Regions from separate parts of the Homo sapiens genome. Here all the other regions are linked to region 1. Evidence: promoter capture Hi-C in 16 types of primary human blood cells and fetal thymus (Javierre and others, 2016). All regions are on one chromosome and are shown on one strand. The core of a region is centred on a gene start or on the middle of the fragment in contact, and the rest is flanking DNA. Distances in the headings are between cores, read along the strand shown.

Region 1 (4,536 bases), core at 1,235-3,734:
TATCACCATTCCTATTCCTACAGTCATTCAATATATACTGTTGAATCATACCTCATGCCAGGCAACAAACTAGCTGCTGGGGACACATGACTATGAGTGAACCAAACAAAAGCCCCTGCCCTGTGTGCATTAATTCGAGGGTGTAGCAGGGAGGGGAAAGAGGACAAACAATAAACAAGACAAAAAGGCATAATATATAGAGTGATGGCTGGTCGTAAGCACTAAGGAGAGAAAGACGGTGGGGAAGGAGAGCCCATCTATGTAGGAAAGGACAGTCTCTTCAACACGGTGGCCAGGCAAGTCCTCCCTGAGAAGGTAAAACATGACATTTGAGCCAGGACTTCAGAGAGGTGACAGAGTAAACCACATTCATATATCTGGGAAAAGAGCAATCCAGGACAAAGGAATAGCAAGTGCAAAGGCCAGGAGTCAGATTTGTGCCTGTCACGTTGCAAGGAATCCATATTATTAGAGCCAGGTGAGTGAAAGCAGAAAGCAATAGGAAAGGACATCAGGTAGCGATAGATCAGCAAGCAGGTGTCACCACTTTGTTTAACTACCTCAGTGGGTCCCTAAACTTTAATAAACTCTGTAAGACCCGTATGCTCTGCCCCACCCATCTCTCTGGCCTCCTTTTACCAGTGAAACCCAGCCCCAGCAGAGTATAGCAACCAGTATACATCAAAACACGTCTGTCGGGTGAGTACCTGTGCCTACTCCTATTCAGCACTTCAGCATTTGGAACACTTTCAGTGTCTCTGTAGGCCACCTGATAGGAAGAGCTGTTGTCTGTATTACTCACTTTTGTATTCCCAGCTTCTTACAATTGGCATTCATCAGGTATTCAGATTAACATGTCAAACGCCAAAATTTGTTCAGTAAAACTTTTTCTCCTTACTGGTAGGTAAGATCATCTTCACTAAGGAATAACAAAGTTTGGCTAGGGAACGAAGAACTAGGAGTGTCATAGGAAATGGAGTGGTACAGGGTACATGGGGTGAGGTACCACAAAGGAGACATGGGGCATCATGGGAGCACAAGGGTACCAGAAAGAGAAGTACATCAGAGTGAGTTCCACCAACATCTCCCCTTCCCCTGGGCCCACGCATATTCACTTTTCCCATCCCTGGGAAAAGAGCTCAAGCTGTTCTCCCTGTCCCTCAAAATATGACCAAAATTCCACCAATAATTTAAGGCCATCTCACAACTTTTGTGGCTTGTCATCTTTCAATCCTTTGCACTTCCCAGAGCAAGATTGTGTACATAGTCGGTACTCAGTTAACGATGTTGTGCTGATCTCAGTGACCAAAAGCAAAGTCCCTTTTTTAAATATTTGACGCAGGGCTACCCCTGATTCTAGGAAAGGGGAAGAATCCCCTCTGCTTTTTTTTCTCTTCTCTGGACACACAATATGCAACCTGTTACATTAATTACAGCTTGAGTTAATTCGTGGAGAATCAAATCACCATGTTAAACAGCTATGAAATAAGTTCCAAATATTAGTAAGCAACCCATTTGAAAACTGGGCACTACCTATATGAAAAAACATTCATCTACTTTCTGTTTAGTTACAGAATACAGTGATAATATTCATAGAAAAAAATAGTATGAAAGGCATAATCCTACAGCCAAAATAAAACTAATCTTAATGTCCACACACAAATTTCTTTGGGCAAATTTTAACCCCAGGATGATTTCTCCTAGGTAGCTTTCCTTGGGCCTGTCTCAAATGTGTGTTTTGGTAACACAGACTGATTTTACTACCTCTTTAAAACACAAATATGTTGGAAACGAAAAATTGTGGGCTGCATTTTAACACCAAATAGAACTCACATTAGGATATCAGCCACTGTTGTCCTCTGCTACTGAACATGACAAAATCCAAGTTATACCTTAATTTCTTGATTTTCTATTACAATGCACTGGTATTTTAAATACGCCATCAATACATTTTGATGAATGCAATGCATGTACAGAATTTGTAGATGTAAATGAGTAAAACTTCCCAACTATGTGCGAAAAGGAAATGTTTTATTTTAGTAGAAATTCCTAGCTGTGTACAAAAAAAGAAAATCCGCAGGATTCTTCATGGTGCACCCTCCTCCCTCCCACCTTTAAGAGTCATATGAGTCTAAAGGAATGAACGAGGTACCTCAACCAGGTACATTTCAGTACGACCTAAATGGTGCCCAGCCCGGGTTCCTCCTTGCACCAAAAGCGAAGCACATCTGGGGGTTTTTCCCGGCGGGACGCGCCAGCTGGAGCGCGGCGGCGGGAGGCGCCCAGCGCCAACACCCAGCTCCTCCCCGTCTGCTGCGGCCCCGCACAGCCTCCTTACCGATGATGGGCTTCTTGGCGGTGTCGCCGTGGGGTCTAGACAGCTCGAGGCTCGCCGCCCCGCAGAGTAGCAGGCCCAGCACGCACAGCAGGCAGCCCGGACTGGCCATGGCGCTCGCCGCCTCCCGCCGCCTTTCAAAAGCTCTGCGGGCGGGCGGGGGCTGCGGCAGGGACACCTCGCGGCAGCGCACTCGCGTGAGACTCGGGTGGGCGGTGCTCCGCAGCGTGGGCCTATGGGAAATGCAGTCCCGGCGCGCGCTAGGCGGCCGTGGGGCGGCGGTGGGAGGCTCTGGGAGTGCAGCCGGCGCTGCGCGCCCGCCCCATTGCTCTGTCCCCGGTCCGCGACCGCGACCGCGACCCCGACCCCCACGGGCCGCCTAAGCGGAGACTCTGGAAACGCCTGGGGCGGGTACCGGGTGGTCTCCGCGTCCTTCCCTTTCAACTGTTACGTCGATGTGGACTTCAGTCACCCGTACAAAGCTGGGCTGGCCAACCCAGGTCCTCGAGAGGGGAGGTTGGGTGTCCCCGGCCGAGTTTGGTAACCAGGCAGCGGGGAGGCTGGCAGGGGATTCTAGAAGGCGCCTGAGAACTGCGCGCCAACCGCACCGCCCCCTTGAAGGTCGGGGCCCTATCTCCGGGAATGGTGACAACGTTCGCTGTACGGACAGCCTGTGCCCCTGAATGTGAATGTCCACACTTGCTATTTGGGGGGTCGCGGCATCTGTAGGAAGTGAAGACGGGACGGCGATAGGAACACACGCACAGGCGCATCACTAGGGTCAGAACTGGGCCAACTCCGGGCGTCTACTTTGAAGCGGGCACGCCCAGGCCACGCCTGCAAACGGCGTCAGCTTCCTCTGATCAACCGCGGTCAGCGCCATCCACCGACCACCACTAAGCCTATCCACCGGGGCAGAAAAGATGACTGGTTCCTATTCGTTAAAACTGTTGATTGTTCCTAAATACATGGATATATAGCTTGTACTCAGTGAAAGTTTCCATCTATAAGGGCCAACTGAAATTCAGCATAAAACAAGAATATTTGAAAACCTGCTACATCAATGCTCAGTATTAAGGGTGAAAACGTAAATTGGACAGTCTTTTTCACAAGAGGTTTAAATTCAGTAAGGAAAAAAGGCAGAAAGCGTGACTCGTAGAGACAACAGGAACAATTTTAGCATGTTGCAAGAAGAGTAAATGCAGTGAATAGTCTGGTTTAACAAGAAAATAACGCTTCTGTAGAAGGGTGTGGTGAGAGGTAAGCAACAAAGGATGTGATGAAAGACATGAAAGGGCCGAGCTGGTTTTGAGCATGATTAAATAGACAAGTAGCCTTGTAAATATGAACTTGTGGTGCCAGAATAATTGACTATCCACATAGGAAAAATTTTTTACCCGGCGTTACACACAAAAATAAACTCGAGGTGAAGTGCATATGTAAATACGAAAGCAAAATATTATACTTTGATAAGAAAATATATAAATATATCTTCCTAACTTAGGCTGTTGGAAGAGTTTCATAAAACATTAAAAATAAAAATGTTAATTAAAAATTGACTATATAAGAAAATTAAAGTTAAAGCACAAACTTGGAAAATATAGTTATAAAATATAAAGTATTTCTAAAATATGCGAAGAAATAATAAGAAAAATGACACAATAGAAAAATGGAAAAAGAATGTGAAAAGCAAACCAAACTTTCTGTAGTCATCAGAAAAATGCAAGATAATATGTCACATCCATTAGACTGTGTAGAAAAACAGCCTGTTTCCTGGCAAGAGTGACACCATCTTGAAGCAAAACTATCCTGGGGACTGATGTTTGACCCACAGCATACCGAGGTGTTCTGCAGCAAAGGTCTTTAAACAATGCTCATAACATATATAACCCCTCATAAAGATGCTTATCTAACGTCCCCAGTGATCACAATAGTCTAAGAGCTAACTAGTTGCACTTGTCTTTACCCTAGAGGCTTGCTAAATAAAGCATACTTTCTGGAGGGCAAGTGCAGGGGTCGCTTCTGTTTGTCTCTACTAAGTATTTCTTTCTGAGAAATTCGATTGGTCAGCCTCTTTGGTCTCCCAGCTTCCTCCATCTTTGGAAGCAGGTTTCTGTAAATTGACAAAAATGTAAGCCTTTGATAATAAGTCAAGGATGTAGTAAAATGACAGTTCTCTGCATTTCTTGTGGAATTGTAAT
Region 2 (4,536 bases), core at 1,387-3,886, 1.2 Mb before region 1:
GAGAAGAGAAGAAATAAAAGGATCAGCGAAGGGCTGGTGGATGATTGAGGGATGACTGGGAGTCCAGCCTTGGGTGACAAAGAGAAAAAAGGCATGAGTTTAATTCCAATGCATAATCAAGGCAGAGACTACGATATTGGAGGATAAAAAAGTGTGCATTTCAGCAGCTTCCTGTTCGTCTCGATGAGGTGTAGAAGGTCTAAAGGAGGAGACTCCTGTTTGACTTCTAATACCTATTGGTAGAGCAGGAAGTGTATATTTTCCATCTTCATCCCTTTGGATGGAAGGGAATCTTCTGGGGAAAGCCTGATGTACCCCCTCAGTAAGGCCTTTTCACCCCTGATGATAGGGACAGAAGAGTCATGTGGGGATGGTCTCCTCCCAGTGCGCTGGTTCATTTAAGACCCTGGGATAACATGATGTACTGCCTGAATTGTCAAGGATTTGAGGTATTCTCCAAATTCACAGGGACGTAGAATATTGAAGGTAAAAGAAACCTAAGAAAATTTCAGGCTCAAACCTTCAGTTTCACAAGAGAGAAAACTGAGTCTGAGAGGGCCAACTACCTTGGCTGAGGTTTCCCCTATTAATAGAATTATAACAGAGATATTCTGATTTTAGGCAATGACTCCCACATTTCAACAGCCCTGTGTTGGTCCTGAGATGTTCATAGTTTTAATTAAAAAAATCTTTCCCAGTCAGCAAATTCATAGGCTTTTTACTATATAAACTGTAGTAAAAACTTTACTATAAAACTCTTCTTTTTAAAGCTTATGTTTTAATAATAAGGATAAAGAGTTTGCTTATATTTCAAGCATTTTCCACACTATATGAAATACCATTCCATAGACAATTTGGCGTATGTTCAAGAGGATGGTCTTCCAGGGCACAAAGGCTGTGCCTGTGAAGTTGAGGAAACTGTTACATGGAGACTGTACCTAAGAAGGGTTTCTAAGGCCGGGCGCGGTGGCTCACGCCTGTAATCCCAGCACTTTGGGAGGCTGAGGTGGGTGGATCACGAGGTCAGGAGATCGAGACCATCCTGGCTAACACGGTGAAACGCCGTCTCTACTAAAAATACAAAAAATTAGCCAGGTGTGGTGGCGGGCGCCTGTAGTCCCAGCTACTCGAGAGGATGAGGCAGGAGAACGGCATGAATCCAGGAGGCGGAGCTTGCATTGAGCCGAGATGATGCCACTGCATTCCAGCCTGAGGGACAGAGCAAGACTCTGTCTCAAAAAAAAAAAAAAAAAAAAAAAAAAAAAAGGAGGGTTTCTAAACTTCTGAGGGTAAAGTAAAGCCTCTCCTTAAATATCTGTGGAAATATGAAACACATTGGGTCATCAAGATTCCTCAATTTTGTAGCTATGACTTTTTAATCAATAGTTTTTGAACTCTTTTTTTGAGGAGGTCTTTCCTGGGTAACTTGGAACTCTACTTCTTCTCTTTAGAACAAAAGTGGATAGTCCTCCACAGATATAATATATATGAGGACATTTTATATCAATGTAATTATACAATAGGTGGCCTTTTGTGACTGGTTTCTTTCACTTGGCATAGTCTTTTCAAGGTATATCCATGTTGCTGCATGTATCAGTATTGCATTCCTTTTGATGGTTGAATAATATTCCATTGCATGGATACATCCCATTTTGTTTATCCATTTATTGGTCGATGGAAATTTATATTGTTTCCACATTTTGGCTATTGTATTACTCCTATGAACATTCTTGTTCAAGTTTTTGTTTGACACTTGTTTTCATTTTTTTGTGTGCGTGCATATACCTAGTATTAGAATTTCTGGGTTATATAGTAAATTCCATAAATAACTTGTTGAACGTTTGCCAAACTGTCTTCCAAAATATCTACATCATTTTACATTTACACCGGCAATGTATGATGGTTGTAATTTCTCTGACTTCTTTCTAACACTTGTTCTTGTCTTTCTTTTTGATTTTAGCCATTCTAGTGTGTGTGAAGGGCTATCTCCTTGTGGTTTCGATTTGCATTTCCCTAATGACCAATGCTGTTGATCATCTTTTTGTGTGTTTATTATCTATATGTATATCTTTTTTTGGAAAAATGACTATGCAAATCCTTTGCCCATTTTTTAATTGGATATTTGTCTTTTTATTGCAAGTTGAGAGGATTCTTTGTATTTTCTGGAAACTACACTTTTATTGGAATTATGATTTGCAAATATTTTCTACCATTCTATATGTTGCATTTTACTTTGTTAATATGTCTATAAGTGCTATATCTTCTTGATGGACATTGACACTTTATAATTATAAAAAGTCCTTCTTTGTCTCTAGTGCAATTTTTTTAAATTAAATTTTGTTTTAAGTTTTGGGATATATGTACAAGATGTGCAGTTTTGTTACACAGGTAAATGTATGCAGTGGTGGTTTGCTGCACCTATCTACCCATCACCTAGGTATTAAGCCCAGCATGCATTAGCTGTTTATCTTGATGGTCTCCCTCTCCCCGGCCTCCCCAACAGGTCCCAGTGTGTGTTGTTCCCCTCCCTGTGTTCACGTGTTCTCATTGTTCAGCTCCCACTTATAAGTGAGAACATATGGTGTTTTGTTTTCTGTTCCTGTGTTAGTTTGCTGAGGATGATGGCTTACAGCTCCATCCACGCCCTTGCAAAGAATACGATCTCGTTCCTTTTTATAGCTCCATAGTATCTTGTGTTTCTTTTTGTATGATATTATTATAGCCACTCCAGCCTTCATTTGGTTAGATTAGATGATACATTTTTTTTTCAGAAATTTTGCTTTCAAACTATTTGTGTTTTTGGATCTAAAGTGTACCTCTTTTAGACAGTATGTAGTTGTATCATTTAAAAAAATTCAATCTTCCAATCTCTGCCTTTTAATTGGAGTGTTAATTCATTTACATTTGATATAATTACTGATATATTAGGATTTATGACAGCCATTTTGCTGTCTTTCCTATATCTTTTTCTTGCCCTTATATTTTTCTATTACTGTCTGTTTTGTGTTAAATAGATGCATTATTCTATTGCACTATTTTAATTTTCTTATTTTGCTAAATTTTTTGAGTTATTTCTTAGTGCCTAGTATTACAATTAGCGGATTAGCTTAAAAAATCTAATGCATAATAAAATCAGCTAAATTTCAATAATATACAAAAACTTTACTCCAGTCTAACTCTATTTCTTCCCTCCTCCTTTTTGCTATTTTCTCATGTAAATTATATCTTTATACATTGTAAGCCGACAAGCACACTTGTGTAATTATTGCTTTATGCAGTTGTCTTTTACATCAGATAGGGGAACAAAGGACTTAAAAACAAAAGATGCATTTACATTGTCTTTTATTTTTACCTATGTAGGTACTTACTGGAGCTATTGATTTCTTCATGTTGCTTCAGCTTACTGTATCATGTTCTTTCATTTTAGCCTGAAGAAATCCCTATGGCCTTTTTTTTTTTTTTTTCTAGGCCAGGTTTGCTAGCAACAAAATTCTTTTGGTTTTTGTTTATCTGGAAATGTCTTACATTTTCCTTTATTTTTGAAGGATAGTTTTGTTGAATATAGGATTCTTGGTTGAGGGTCTTTTTCTTTCAGCACTTTGAATATGTCATGTGACTGCCTTTTGGCTTCCAGTTGTTTTTGATTATAAGTCAAATGTTAACTTATTGGGGAATTTTTTTGTAGGTAATAAGTTGTTTTTTTCTCACTGCTTTCAAGATTTTTTTTCCTTTCCAGGTTTTGACAGTTTGACTATAGTGTGTGTACATGTGGATTTCTTTGAGATTATCCTCCTTGAAGTTTGTTGAGCTTCTTAGATTCATAGATAAAACTTTCATCAAATTTGTAAAGGGTGCCATTATTTCTTCAATTATTCTTTATGCTCCTTTCTTTCTCTCCTCTACTTTTGAGACTCACATTATACATGTGTTGGCATATTGAAAATATCCCATGTGTATCTGGGTACTCTTAATTTTTGTAAATTTCTCCAGACTTTATCTATCTTCAAGTTTACTTAATTCTTTCTTCTGCTAGCTTACATCGGCTTCTGAGACCCTCCTATGAATTTCACACATCACTTATTGTACTTTTCAAGTCTAGAATTTCTATTTGGCCCGTTTTTTAAAAAAATTCTATATCTTTATTGATAGTCTCAATTTGGTTATTCATATACTCCCTTTTATTTCTTTAGACACAGTTTCTTCTAGTTTTTGACTGTATTTGTAACAGCTGGTTTTAAGCATTTGTCTAGTAAGTCCAATATCTGGGCTTCCTTGCACAATATTTCTATTGAATACATTTTTCCCCATTGTGCATGGGCCATGCTGTGTTTTCGTATGCCTCATAATTCTTTGTTTAAAGCTGGACATTTAAAATAACATTATGTGGCAATTCTGAAAATCAGACTCCCCCCTTACTTACCATAATTTTTCATTGTTGCTTTTGTTTTGGTTTTCATTATTTACTGTTTAGTGACTTTTCTGGCCTAATTCAATAAAGTCTGTAAGCTTTATCATGTGCAACCACTGAAATCTCTC
Region 3 (4,536 bases), core at 1,084-3,583, 1.2 Mb before region 1:
TAGCGCTCAAACTTAAGCTGCTGCTGTCTTACGCTGCGTAAAGATTCAAAAAAGGCCGGCGCGGTGGCTCACGCCTGTAATCCCAGCACTTTGAGAGGCCGAAGAGGGCGTCATCATCTGAGGTCCGGAGTTTGAGACCAATTTGGCCAACATGGTGAAACCCCATCTCTACACACAAAAATTAGCTGGGCGTGGTGGCGTGCGCCTGTAATCTCAGCTACTCCGGAGGCTGAGGCAGGAGAATAGCTTGAACCTGGGAGGCAGAGGTTGCAGTGAGCCGAGGTCGCGCCATTGCTCCCCAGCCTGGGTGACAAAAGTGAAACTCCCTGTCAAAAAAAAAGAAAAGTTCAAAAACAAGCCTTGGTATTATGCACCATAGATATTTAGATATCTGTTTTTGATGGAGTCTTTTGAATGATCATTATTATTGCTTTAACCTACATTCACTATTTGTTGACAATGAAACATCTTTCCTAAAAGCTTAAAAATTAAGGTTTTAAACAGCATACTTTTAATACTTATTCCAAAGATTTTCCTGATAATATCACACAATACAAATAATCATTTGAGGAAAGTTTAAATATAACATTCACAATCAAATGAATGATAATTAGTAATCTGCATTCTTTTAGCCTAAATAGGCAATGCACCTTTTCTTATGCTTACTGTCCCAGTTCCTTTCTCTTCCCTTCCTCTTTTTTCATATTACTTAATAATAAAAATTATAAGTACAAGAATAGCAATGATGACTTCCTACAGTCTCAGAAAACTCTTGAAAATCAAATAAAAATAAATTATAACAAGGTAGAATTAACAAAATTCTTGCTGGATTTTAGTATCCAGGTTGTGACACACTTATAAGGATGTATTTTATGAATTGCACTTTAATAAGTTCGGCTTCCTTACTTATTCCAGTGTGCCATATGTACAACCACACACACACATACAGGAATAAATAAACACTGTGTTAAATTTTTCATTGTTCCATTGCTAGCCAAGGTGAGTTAATCCACTGCCAGTTAAATTAACTACTTGGAAATAGCAGCAGGAAGAATATTAAAAGGAAGTAAAAGCACAAAGAAGAACAACTTTTAAACAATGAAACTAAAGTTGAAACTATTCCAAAGAACATATGGGGAGGTTTCATATTCCTGTGACCCCCTATAACCAATGAGGTTAACATGGGTCAAGTTCAGATGAAAAGAGTTTCTCTGCAGATAAAATGTACTTCTTACCTTATATGAAAATAACTTCCAGACTGAATAAAAAAATAAAAGCATCTTTTTCCCTTTAAAAAGTATGTATATTTTTTCTTCATTCAATTTTATTAGTTCATACATTTCTAGAGAGCAATCACTAAGTTGTTTTCTGTTTTGTCTAACATGACACTCCAAGCATATGGATCCTTAAGAAGACTGCACTCCTCTAAAAGAGAGGATTAATAAAGGAAATATTCTTGAATTTCCAATTATATCTGTTGCCCAGTGTAGTCAATCATTTTCAAATTCCAGGGTCTTTACCTGAAGAATCATTTGATAAAGAAGTGTCAAGTCACAGTGTGGAGGGAAGATGTCCTAATGAGGTTCCTGGCGTTGAGACACTCTGAGCCCAGGAGAGTTCTCCCTGTCAGTCATCTCCAGCTTGCTCTGACCCGGCATTTTGTGGACTGCAGCCCAGCTCACCCTTTGTGGAGAGTCTGTAAGCTCTCCCTGCCAGACAGCTCAGATCAATTGACCTTTAATAGTTTTTATTGTTTACGCTGCCCTTTAAAGTATCCATCATCTTTTTTTTAAACCTCTAGTCTAAAGATCTTTCCAGACCTAGACAAATAGAATGCTTCTTTGTCTAGGAAAATGAAGATTCTTCTCAGGGTTTAGAGGTGGGGATAAAAGTCCTGGGGTGGAGAAGATCCTGGGGCTACGAACAGGGCACACATTTGTTCCTCTTTCTTTTTTCTTTCTTTCCCTTTTTTTTTTTTTGAGACAGGGTTTCACTTTGTCACCCAGGCTGGAGTGCAGCGGTGTGATTTTGGCTCACTCCAACCTCTACCTCCCTAGCTCAAGCAATCCTCCCACTTCAGCCTCCCGAATTAGCAGGCCACCATGCCTGGCTAATTTTGTTTATTTTGTTGTAGAGATAAAGTCTCACTATATTACCCAGGCTGGTTTTGAACTCCTGGGCTCAAGCAATCCTCCCACCTCGGCCTCCCACGTTTTGAAATTACAGGTGTGAGCCACTGCACCCAGCCTTCCACCCTCTTTCTGATGCTGCTGATAGGGAAGAAAAAACTCTCCATATTTTTGCTTTGGGACACACCTCTGTCTTTATTTTTTATCCTAATGGCAAGCTCATAATTCTAAACTGAAGGAAAAAGATGTGTGTGTGTGTGTGTGTGTGCATGTGTGTGTGTGTGTACATGCCTGCCAAGAACACATTTTTTAGCACATTCTCCAACCATACTCATCATCCCCCCTCAATATGATAACAAGTGAGGAGCTTTTCTTTTACTCTAGTCCCTCAGCAGTTCCTTTACCATGACCTCTGAGTCTTGAGGGTCATGCTCTTCTCTCTAAATCCCTGGGGGCCTATGGCCACTGAGCTGCAGTAAAGAAGAACTCCAGCTTACAGGGAGGCAGAAATCAGAACAAAGTGCTACTTAGAATTTTTCTTCATTGCACCTTCCATAGTTAATCTTTAGGAACCTAAAACACATCAAGTGGTAATGTTCACCTCAGTGCTTTCTTTATTTTATTTTAGTTTTTAAATTTTTGAGACAGATCTCACTCTGTCCCCCAGGCTGGGGTGCAGTGTCACAATCTCGGCTCACTGCAACCTCAAAGTGCTGGGATTACAGGCGTGAGCCATTGTGCCCTGCCAGTGCTGTCTTTAATATAAGTAAATATATGACAAGGGGGAATAGCAAGTATCATAAATTCTGGTCTCATTTCTGGTCTTAAACCTGAGCTTCCCTCAGAGAAGAATGAACTGGCCGGGCACAGTGGCTCAAGCCTGTAATTCCAGCACTTTGGGAGGCCGAGGCAGGTGGCTCACCTGAGGTCAGGAGTTCGAGACCAGCCTGCCCAACATGGCGAAACCCAGTCTCTACTAAACATACAAAAAATTAGCTGGGTGTGGCAGTGGGCGCCTGTAATCCCAGCTACTCCGGAGGCTGAGGCAGGAGAATTGCTTGAATCTGGGAGGAGGAGGTTGCAGTGAGCTGAGATGTGCCACTGCACTCCAGCCTGGGCGACAAGAGTGAAACTCCGTCTCAAAAAAAAGAATGAACTAACCCTTCCTTCCTCCCTCCTTCCCTTCTTCCCTCCTTCCCTCCTTTCCTTCCTCTTTCCCTCCTTCCTTCCCTCCCTCCCTCCTTTCCTTCCTTCCTTCCTTCCTTCCTTCCTTCCTTCCTTCTTTTTCTTTCTTTCTTTCTCTCTCTCTTTCTTTCTTTCTTTCTTTCTTTTTCTTTCTTCCTTTCTTCCTTCCTTTCTTTCTTTCTCTTCCTTCCTTCCTTCCTTCCTTCCTTCCTTCCTTCCTTCCTTCCTTTCTTTCTTTCTTTCTTTCTTTCTTTCTTTCTTTCTTTCTTTCTTTCTTTCTTTCTTTCTCTTTCTTTCTTCTTCTTGATGTCTTTGCAAAGTACACCTAATAGCACTCAGTGCATAGGTCTGAGTGTCCCAGTGTATGAATGTCTAACACATTATATCTTCTACTCATTTCATTCTGAGGGCATCCTTCATTGAAAATCTCTTTCCTCCTGTCCACTCTCCCAAATTCCCTTCTCCACTGAGCACATTTTTCATTCTGCCCCTTAGCTTAATCCTCCCTCCCCCAATTACTCCCTTTGTAAGTTCTTAGAGACCCCGAAGTTATCTTTGATGCTTGTTTCACTGGCCCGTCAAGTGTGGGGGCTGCACATAATAAACACTCCCCAGTCAGTTAGGCACCTTCAATTAAAACCTCATCTTTTATGCTAGCCAGTCCCACTTCAATAGCATCTCTTAAACAACAATCACATATCACACGTTCCAGGGCTTTCTAAAACAGGTAACAGATGCTGCTAAGATCTGGCAGGCTCCCAGAGTGTAGCTGTCAGTGGCCAAAACTTAGTTGCAAAGGTCCCGATACTCTTGGGTTCAACAATAATTTCCCTCCCGATGCTTAGATTTTAGAAAACAAATCCCCTCTGTTCTAAAGCTTTAGGTTTCTTTCCTCTCTACTATGAGGTAAAAATATGGTGGAGGTAAGCAGGCTTGGCTATTGTAGTGGGTTGAGTGGTGGTCTCTAGGAAGATATATCTAAGCCCTAACCTGCTGTGTCTATGAATGTGATCTTATTTGGAAATAGGATCTTTGAAGATGTAATTAGGTTAAGAATCTCAAGATGAGATTATCTTGGATTCAGGGTGGACCGTAAATCCAATGGCATGTATCATTATAAGAAGAGGAGCAGAAAGAAAGACACACAGGAGAGGCCATGTGAAGTCAGGGGCAGAGATTGGAGTGAGGAGTCTATAAGTCACGCTATTCAAAGGCTCACCAA
Region 4 (4,536 bases), core at 1,321-3,820, 1.2 Mb before region 1:
GTTTTTGTACCTCACTTCTGCTTTCTGTACATCACTTTCCTTTTCCTAGTCATAAATCCCCTCCAAGCATGTGGCAGCACAGAGTCTCTCTGAACCTATTCTGATTCTGGTGGCTGCTCAATTTGCAAATCATTCCCCAACAGATGGTATCAGAAGTGGGACCTGCAGTGGGGCATCTAGCAACCCCCAGGAGCATTGAGTGACCAGGCTTGGGACCCACCGGGCGCAGGGTGTCCATTGTTCTCTCGAAGCAACTGAGAATTGTGGGTAAGTTTTCTCTTAGATTCTGAAGCTCCATGGAGTTCTGTTTTGAGTTCTTCCTTTATAGGCATCCTTGGGCATAGACATGGCTATTTGGTATCCAGGATGACTGGGGAAGACAGGAAGGGTACCTGTAGTCATAGTTTCAAAATTATTTTCAGTAATTCATAATCTTAAAGTCATCTTATGTTAAATTAAGTAATAGATAATCATAAAATGGCTGAGTCATTTCTAAATAAGTTAAAATACTGAAACATTAATTATTAAACATAAATACAGGTTAACATATGTTGTTATCTTATTTTCACATGATATAGAACAGCTACATATGTTTAGATCTGTTAAACAAAAAAGTGAGAAGCATAGCTTTCAAAAAATTATAAAGTGGTTTTCATCTTCAAATAGTTTTATAAAATAATTCAAAATTACTTCCTAGGGTTTTCACAAGCAATTAGGGTTACTAAGAGTTAAAATTGTAGTTAATATATGTAATTAAAACTACTAGATATAAAAGAAACAATTCTGTATACAGAGTGTATAAAAATAGCAAGATATATTTTTGGTAAGAAAAGTTATAAAAGCATAAAAAATGTGCATTTGTCAAGAACATATAATTTTGTCCAGTTTAGAAGTTACTTAAAAGTCATTTCAAATTAAAAGAATAAAAAATATGTAGGTAAACTAAATAAATATAAAAAGTTGGAAATTATCTCAACTATGATCATTTTAAAATAGTTTCCACAGTTAATTCCTTAACTTTGATGCATTTCTAGTCTATTGTTGAAGGACTCAAATGTATTTTGTATTTCCTTCAATGAATTTTCTAGCTGTAGAATTTCTATTTGGTTCCTTTAAAAAATCTATCTTCTTGGTAAATTTCCTATTAATATCTTGAATTATTATTCTGATTTCTTTGTGTTGTTTTTCAGAATTCTCTTGAACCTCATTGGGCTTCTTTAAACTCAATATTTTGAATTCTTTAGCTAGGATTCTGAAAATTTCTTTTTTATTAAGGTTTATTGCTAGAAAATTATTGTGTTTCTTTGGAGGTGTCATACTTCCTTGTTTCCTGTTTCATGTGTCCTTATGTTGACATTTGCACATCTGATAAGACTCTTTCCTGGAGATGTATCTCGGTGTTAGTTGGGTGGCATACTTCCCTTTGATTCTGGGTACATGCAGTAGTGTAGTCTCTGATTTCTTTGGCTGTAAACAGTGTTAGTGGTACCTGTGATTTCCTCAGTGGGCTGGGTGGCAGTTTTAGTGAAGGCTGTGGTAAAGCTGTGCTGGGTACTGTGATGCCAGTGGGCCAGTCTGCAGGCCAGTGGTGGCAGTGGTGGGCTGGGTGTGCCTATCTTTGTGTCCCAGGGCAGTGTATTCTGGCACCTGTGTTGATAGCTATCAGCAGGCTAATTCTTGGGCTTCAAGGTGGCTTGCTTGGATTCTGGCAGTGGCAGCAGTAGACTGAGCAGGGGGGCACGTTCTTAGGCCCTCAGAAGTCAGTGTGGCATGGGCAATGTCTGCAGCAGTGGTGAGATGATTCTCTGGATCTGCAGCAGTGTGCACTGATGTTGGTGGTGACTGAGATGGGCTGAGTGGCCCAGTCTGCAAGTTCGCAGGTGGTACTGGCGGGTAGGTGCCAGCTGTGTTGGTAGCGACTGGGAGTTTAGGAGCAACAACCTCAGGCCCCTGGGAAGAGTGATCAGGTGCCCAAGTTGGCGGCTTGAGCAATCCCCAGGACCCTGGGCTGTGTGCTCTGTCTAGGGAGGGTGGGGGGCAAGGCTGGGCTGGGCTGGGCAGGCTTGTGCTGAGGCCCTCAATGATGAGAGTCGGCACTGGTCATGGGGGCTGGGGATGGTGCAGTCCTCAGCCAGACAGAGTACTTGTGTGAGGGGTTGTGGCAGCTGCACTTAAGCCCTGCCACTGGAGAAGGTGGAGCTGTCCTCAGTGAGCACAGCCCAGTCCAGCAGGTGGAAAATGCACATCCCGCTCACACTCCGGTCTAGGCAGGGTTTGCTCTCCAGCTCCAGCAGCGGTATCCTGCGCCTAGCTCACACTCCCACTCCAGCTACAGGAGCCCTCACCCAACTGGCGACCAAGCCCTCAATTTTGCTGTAGGAGGTTATTTCTTGTCATTAAGAGTTTTAAAGCCAAACATAGTTTAAAAACGGGAAGCAGAGGCTGCTGTGTCATTCATTTGTTCTGTAAAAAGAACCCAGTGGGAGCCCAGCTACTATGGCATCTAAAAGTAAAAGCTCTTGGCATCCTGAGCTGTGGCCAAATTCTGCCATCCCTTTGGCTTTTAAGCCATGGAAATTGATTTTAGATCCTCAGGGTTAGAATTACTCACCCCATTCACAATATTATAATTCTTTAAAGAATGTTTTGTGTGGTTGCACTAGAGTTTGCAATGTACATTTATAACAAAGTACACTTAATACTAAAATGCTTCATAGGTAGTGCTGATATCTATCAGAGTTTTCCCAATTCATCTCTTCCTTATAAAATTGCTGTCATTAATTACACATATTCATATAATATAATCATGCAATATGTTGTTTTTGTCAGCTTAAAAGAAAGAAGCCTAAGCATAAAATGTAATTTGAAGAGTATACTTGAACCAAAGTGAGGACAGCTGCCTGGGACCACTTCCAAGTGGCCTTGGGGAGTGCTCTGTCACCTTTGTTACAAGCAGGCTTTTAAATGCAAAAGGGAACAAGTAATGGGCTGATACAAAGTTGTTTGACAGGAAGTCTCATAAGAGAATTTACTTTTACCTCTACATATTATTTATCTTTTCTTGATGGTTTCTTTACATAGACTGAGTTTCTGAATATATCATTTTATGTTTCCCTGAACAAATTTTTATAGAGATATTTTTTAAAAGCAGATTTAGGTTCAGAGCAAAATCAGACAGCAAGGACAGAGAATTCCCATATACCCTTCACTGCCACACATACATAGCCTCCCCACTACCAATATCCTGGTCCAAAGTGGTATATTTGTTACTGTCAATAAACTTTTGTTGACTTTCACTGGTCAATATCACCAAAAGTTCACAGTTGACATTAAAGATCATTCTGGGGTTGTACATTTTATGGGTTCTGACAAATCTGTAATGACATGTATCCATTATTATAGTGTCATGCAGAATAGTTTCACTCCTCTAAATATCCTGTCTTCTGCCTATTATCTCTCCCTTTCCCCTAGTACCTTGCAATCACTTATATTTTTACTGTTGCCACAGTTTTGCCTTTTCCAGAATGTCATACAGTTGAGACCATACAGTATGTAGCATTTTAAGATTGATTTCTTTCACTTAGTAATATGCATTTCCATTTCTTCTATGTCTGTTCATGGTTTGATGCTCATTTCTTTTTAGCACTAAATAATATTTCATTGTCTCAATGTACCAGAGTTAACTCATTCATTCCCCTGCTAAAAGACATTGTAGGAGCCAAAGAAAACTTCCCCTCCACTCTCTGAAGGTTCACTGAAAAGTCAACTCACAAAAGGAGATTATTAGGAAAAATGGAATCAAATTTATTAATATGCACATAAAGGAGAACCATAGAGTGATTACCTCAAGCCCCAGTGCGGTTCAGAAACTTATATACCATCTTGAGGTTACTGAAAGAATGGGGGCTTGGATTATCGTGAAACAGATTATGGTGGCAAAATAGGTTATGGGAGGGGGAGAAGAGAAGGCCTGGCTAGCAAAGGTGGACTCGTTATGTAAATACACTCTCACAGATGGCAGTCCTCAGAAAGAATAAATGGTAAATGTTTCTTTCAGTTGCTTAAAGGTGTCAGACTCTCAGTTTATCATTCCTAGATCCAGACAAGGAAAGGCCTCAGAAAAAGCCAGGCTGCATCAATGCAGATCTCTACAAAGCAAATCTCCCCTACAAAAGACAACTTTTCATTTCTTCTTGCACCTTCAGCCTTTCTTAATATCTATCTTCAAGGAAATATATTTTAGGGTGAAATATTTGAATTTTCTTCAACATCTGGGTTGCTTCCCAGTTTTGGCAATTAATAAAACTGCTGTAAACATCTATGTGCAGGTTTGGAGTTGGACATACATTTTCAGCCCCTTTGGGATCAATATCCAAAAGCATGATTGCTTTATCTAGTACTAAGAGTAAGTTTAATTTTGTAAGAAACTGTTGAACTGCTGTTACAGTATGTTCCTAGCCAACAGGCAGAATGGACTCCCTGTGGCTAACTGAGGTGATCAAAGTTAAAACAGAATGAGGTGGCCATGTCTGGGTG
Region 5 (4,536 bases), core at 670-3,169, 1.2 Mb before region 1:
TGTTTGTGTACATGCCAGCATGATTATAGTCTTTGCAAAAATATATACAAGACAACACATTTCCCTAAAATAAAAAAGTATGAATTTAGAAAGATTATAGCTACATTAAAATGAATTCAGAATCTACTATGACATAAATAGAATTAGTTAAAGATTAAGGTTAGAAAGTAAATGTCACTTCTTAACTTTTTCTCTTTCTTGCTATTGAGGAGCACAATCTAAAATTTGTAGGCAGATAGAGTATAAAAGTAATGTACAATTATGGCACTTATACTATTTTTTTCTTTTATACAACAATTCTACAAAAATAATGACTATATGTACACATTAAAGGAAACTGTAGATTTACTGAAAAATAGGTATTAATAATATGGATATCAACAGCTGTGTACCTTTAATTTAAAAATTAAAAAAATAAAAATAACAGTAAACTGAAAGTCTCCATTCTCTCATCTTCCTTTTCCTATGTTTATTTTTAAACAAATTATACTGCATATATCGATATCTATTAGGGTCATGTGTTGACTTAGCAATAAATTTAATTATTGGTTTAGATATCTTACAGATGTATGGAATCTCTAATATACACATTTTTGTTTAATATGTTACTGAGAAAGAAGCTCAAGTGATAGAAATAACACAGGACAGGAAGTAAGACAGTTCTCGTCTGAAGTTCTTCTCTGACAGCCCACAAACTAGTTAATATGTAAGTTTGAAAATATAATTTCTGTATTTTATTGCAAATTTCAAATAGATATTTATTTCCAGCTTTATTGAGGTATAATTGACAAATAAAATTATATAAATTTCAGTTGTACAACATGAAGTTTTAATATGTATATCATCATGAAATGATTACAGAAATCAAAATAATAAATATATTCTTCAGCTCACATAGTTATAATTTCCTATTTGTGGTGAGAACATGTAAGAACTATTATATTAGCAAATTTCAAGAATGTAATACAATATTATTAACTATAGTCTTATTGATCTGGTAGATCAAGAACTTTGCACCTTTTAAGCCCCAGCTCCTGGTAATCACCATTTTAATGTCAACTTTTGTGAGTTTAACTTCTTAAGATGCCACATGTAAATGAGGTCATGAAGTTGAAGGAAATAAAAATATTTCATGCCAAAATATCCTTCTTCAGCATATTTTGAGATGGCTATTCAGAGGGCTTGCAAATGGAATTAGCCCTGAAATAAGTCTTTTGTGGGGCATACATTTTTTAGGAAGAAGTCCTCCCCTATGAAAGTAAATTAAAAAATAGGGAAACTGACTATTACACCAGATGCACAGATATCAATGTATGGACACAGGAAGCATGAAAAACAAGAAAATATGACACCTCCAAAGGAATACAATAATTTTCCAGCAATAAATCTTAATCACAAAGAAATTTTCAAAATTCAAGATAAAGAATTCAAAATACTGATTTAAAAAAAGCTCTGTCAGGCATGGTGGCTCATTCCTGTAATCTCAGCACTTTGGGAGTCCGAGGTGGGCAGATCAACTGAGGTCAGGAGCTTGAGACCAGCTGGGCCAACATGGTGAAACCCCGATTCTACTAATAATACAAAAAATAGCTGGGCGTTTGAGATTTTTTTAGCCATTATTTCTTTAAAAAAGATTTCTGCTCCTTTCTTGGAATTTCCAAATACATGCATTGGTTCATTTGATGGTATCCCACAAACCACATAGGGTTTTATTTCCACACTCTTCGATTTTTTTTTTTCATTTGAGTGGATTATTTCAAGTAACCTGTCTTTGAGTTCATAGATTTTTTTCTTTTGCTTGATTGGGTAAAGAGCTAGTATTGAGATGTTTGAAAGCTTCCTTTGAAGCTCTCTGCTCCATTTTGGATTCTATTCATTGTAGTCGTCAGATCCAGAATTACTGTTCGTATCTTTTTTATTTGTATGTATTAGTTGAATGTCTCATTTGTTCGTGTATTGTTTTGGTGATAACACTGAGTTGTCTGTGTTCTCTTGGAGCTTGCTAAGCTTCCTTAAAGCCATTATTTTGAATTATTTGTCAGGTAATTTGTAGATGTATATTTCTTTGGGGTCAGTTATTAAAACATTATTGCATTTCTTTGGTGGTGTCATGTGAAATTTTGTTGTTGTTGTTGTTTCTTGAAATCTTGAGTTGCCTTCTTTGCATTTCAAGAAACAATCACTTCATTCAGTTTTTACTGACTGGCTTTGAGAGTGAAAAATCTTCATCAGTCATCCCAGTTAGGCATTGTGGGGGTCTCTCAGATCTTTTCTGTGGATGCCCCACTCCATTTTTCTTTATCCCTTTTGGGGAGAAAGTATTGGTATCATATGCCTTATCTCCATCCCACAAAGCCATTTTTTTTTTTTTTTTTCCCCTGGGGAAGTGCCCTGAAGAGTTCAAAGTCAGATGCTTTTCCCGAGTTAAGTAGAGTTTGATCTGGGTGTCTGTGTATTGTGTATGATTTTTGTAGACTCACATGTACTTTCTTCAGGGGAGCACAGAAGGTGGTGCTTATGAAAAGGAGGGGCACGTAGAGTGCTAGGGACACATGTGGACCACCTAGGGGTCTGCAGTTAACCTGCGTTATGAGGTTGGTGGTCTGGACTCTTGGTGGAGTTTGCGAAGTGGTTTGTAAAAATCACAACACTTTATTGAGTTCTGTGCTCCATTGCTCTGAGTGCCTATTCAGTTTTTCTTCTCCTAGCTGCCTGCAAACTATTGAGTAATCCCAATTCTCTCAGTTTTCTGGGTGTGATAAGACAGATGTTGGCCTCCTCGGTAGTGTCCCAAATGGCTAGGGAGACAGGGTGCTCATTATACTCTCACTTTCCCCTGTGAGATAAATTAAAGGCAAAGAGGGTCTCCTGGCACAGCACTGAGCTGTGCTGCTTTGGTGGAGGGGTGATGAGGATATAGTGAAACTGTTCTCTTACCCTCTTCAATGTGTCTATTCATAGATTAGAATAGACACCTATAGGGTGCTGGCATCTCTCTACTGGCCTCCTATTCTCCCTCAAAAATACTCTCATCCTTGTATAGTTGTCGAAATTGATGTTTGTTGGGAAGATAAGAGCTGCAAACTTCTATTTTGCCATCTTGCCAGTTATTCCACTAGGTTTTTATTTTAGGAATTATTAAAATTTACACTATAAAATACTTAAGGATATAATTTTGTTCATTCATTAATTATTTACTCAGGCTTGGCTGATTGTAAAATATTGGGAACATACCAAGGAAAAAGACAAACACCATGACCTCTGGAAGTTTAATTTCTAGTGAAGGAGACAAAACTGAACAAAAAAAGAGTGTTATTATTTGTGATAGATATACTGTGATGAAAAAAATAAAACAATGTAAGGGGAGGGAAACCCTTGTGTAATTCTTGTCAGGGGAGACCTCCTTCAGGAAAGGAAATTTGCTAGAGAAAGACAGTAAGATAATGAGGGCGAAGAGTATTTCAGGCAAAGGGGAAAAATTCTGGAAGTAATTTCTATCTTGAAAGAACATAATAATTTAACAGAACTCAGAAATGTCTGTGAACTACATAAATAAATGCCATTCAACCACAATCATTGTATCACCACCTCAACTTCCCCATAGACCAGCACCTTCTCTCATGCCATGAGAGGAAATGTTACTAAGAGGAAGTATGAATGCAATGCAACAGAGTTCTAAATCTAACATAGTTAAAATATTGGACTCTTAGAAATTTTACAAAAGCACATGGACCTTCCCAACACCTTGAAAAGGGCCTGTGCAGTGTGGTGACCTGAAGCTTAAGCTTCATTTATTTTATGGTGAATCTTCTTTTAATCAAAGGTCACAGTTTGTTCTTTTCAACTTTTTCCCAGGTAAGGAAAAAATCAGCATTTAAGTACATGGTGTAAATTAAAGGATTTTAATCCTAACAATGGGAATTCTGACCAAGAATCTCCTAATACACCAAGAGAGAGCCAGTGGGAAAAAAATGACAAATTCTATTTTGAACATGTTCATTTCCGGCTGTCTTATGAGATACCTAAATAAGGATGCCCAACTCTAGAGCTCAGGGAAGAGCTGAGCTTAGAGATGCATGCTTTGGAGTCAACAACCTATAGACAGCATTCAACACCAAATGCTGGATAAAATCACTTTTGGGCTTGAGTGTAGTAAGAGAAGGGCACCCAGGACTGAATTCTGTGACACTCTGACATTAAGTCGTTTATTTGTCTAAGATAGGAGCTACCGTGTTGCTTTTCTGTGCTCACAGAAATGCAATAAAAAGAAACAAAAAAAGATAACTTATGAAGACGGACCATGATCATAGAAGCAATGGCCTTGGACTCGGTAACAGAATGGAATCCATCAGAAAAGTCAGGGAGCTGGCCTGAAACAAGGACAAAGGAAATTCATCCATTATAAAAGGAGGGAAAGTGGAGTATGTAGGTATATAGTGTCTAATATAGTGTACATAGGGTATAGTGAAGTGAAGGGAAGTATCAAAATATCAGAAACTCATTCTATTTCTACTAATTGCAATTCCCTTTAGGCAC

The links. Contacts are between HindIII fragments. The CHiCAGO score rates a contact against its expected background, and 5 or more counts as called.
Region 2: a contact is called between a fragment that was not itself captured here and the fragment with the promoter of GGH in region 1, in 1 of 17 cell types (total B cells). The highest score is 8.2, in total B cells.
Region 3: a fragment that was not itself captured here is called in contact with the fragment with the promoter of GGH in region 1 in 1 of 17 cell types (total B cells); the score reaches 8.1 in total B cells.
Region 4: a contact is called between a fragment that was not itself captured here and the fragment with the promoter of GGH in region 1, in 1 of 17 cell types (total B cells). The highest score is 7.5, in total B cells.
Region 5: a fragment that was not itself captured here is called in contact with the fragment with the promoter of GGH in region 1 in 1 of 17 cell types (monocytes); the score reaches 5.7 in monocytes.

Annotation. Positions count from the first base shown.
Region 1 is chr8:63,036,322-63,040,857 of GRCh38, forward strand. GGH (gamma-glutamyl hydrolase) reads right to left here and starts at 2,485. Exons shown (of 9, transcript NM_003878.3): 1 at 2,339-2,485. The coding sequence starts at 2,447. RefSeq lists a silencer at 2,519-2,878. The HindIII fragment of the contact is 10,760 bases long and covers 1-4,536 here.
Region 2 is chr8:61,793,031-61,797,566 of GRCh38, forward strand. All of the region lies in intron 1 of LINC02842 (long intergenic non-protein coding RNA 2842), which reads left to right. Among named protein-coding and RNA genes, the nearest start is that of LINC02842, 10 kb to the left of the region's middle. The HindIII fragment of the contact is 3,736 bases long and covers 769-4,504 here.
Region 3 is chr8:61,810,194-61,814,729 of GRCh38, forward strand. The region is part of intron 1 of LINC02842 (long intergenic non-protein coding RNA 2842); the gene reads left to right. It overlaps LOC105375871 (a long non-coding RNA gene), which reads right to left. Exons shown (of 3, transcript XR_928972.4): 3 at 287-326. Among named protein-coding and RNA genes, the nearest start is that of LINC02842, 27 kb to the left of the region's middle. The HindIII fragment of the contact is 3,711 bases long and covers 479-4,189 here.
Region 4 is chr8:61,834,730-61,839,265 of GRCh38, forward strand. It overlaps LINC02842 (long intergenic non-protein coding RNA 2842), which reads left to right. Exons shown (of 5, transcript NR_187554.1): 3 at 144-267. Among named protein-coding and RNA genes, the nearest start is that of LINC02842, 52 kb to the left of the region's middle. The HindIII fragment of the contact is 6,801 bases long and covers 1-4,536 here.
Region 5 is chr8:61,879,072-61,883,607 of GRCh38, forward strand. No RefSeq gene overlaps it. Among named protein-coding and RNA genes, the nearest start is that of LINC02155, 8.5 kb to the right of the region's middle. The HindIII fragment of the contact is 171 bases long and covers 1,835-2,005 here.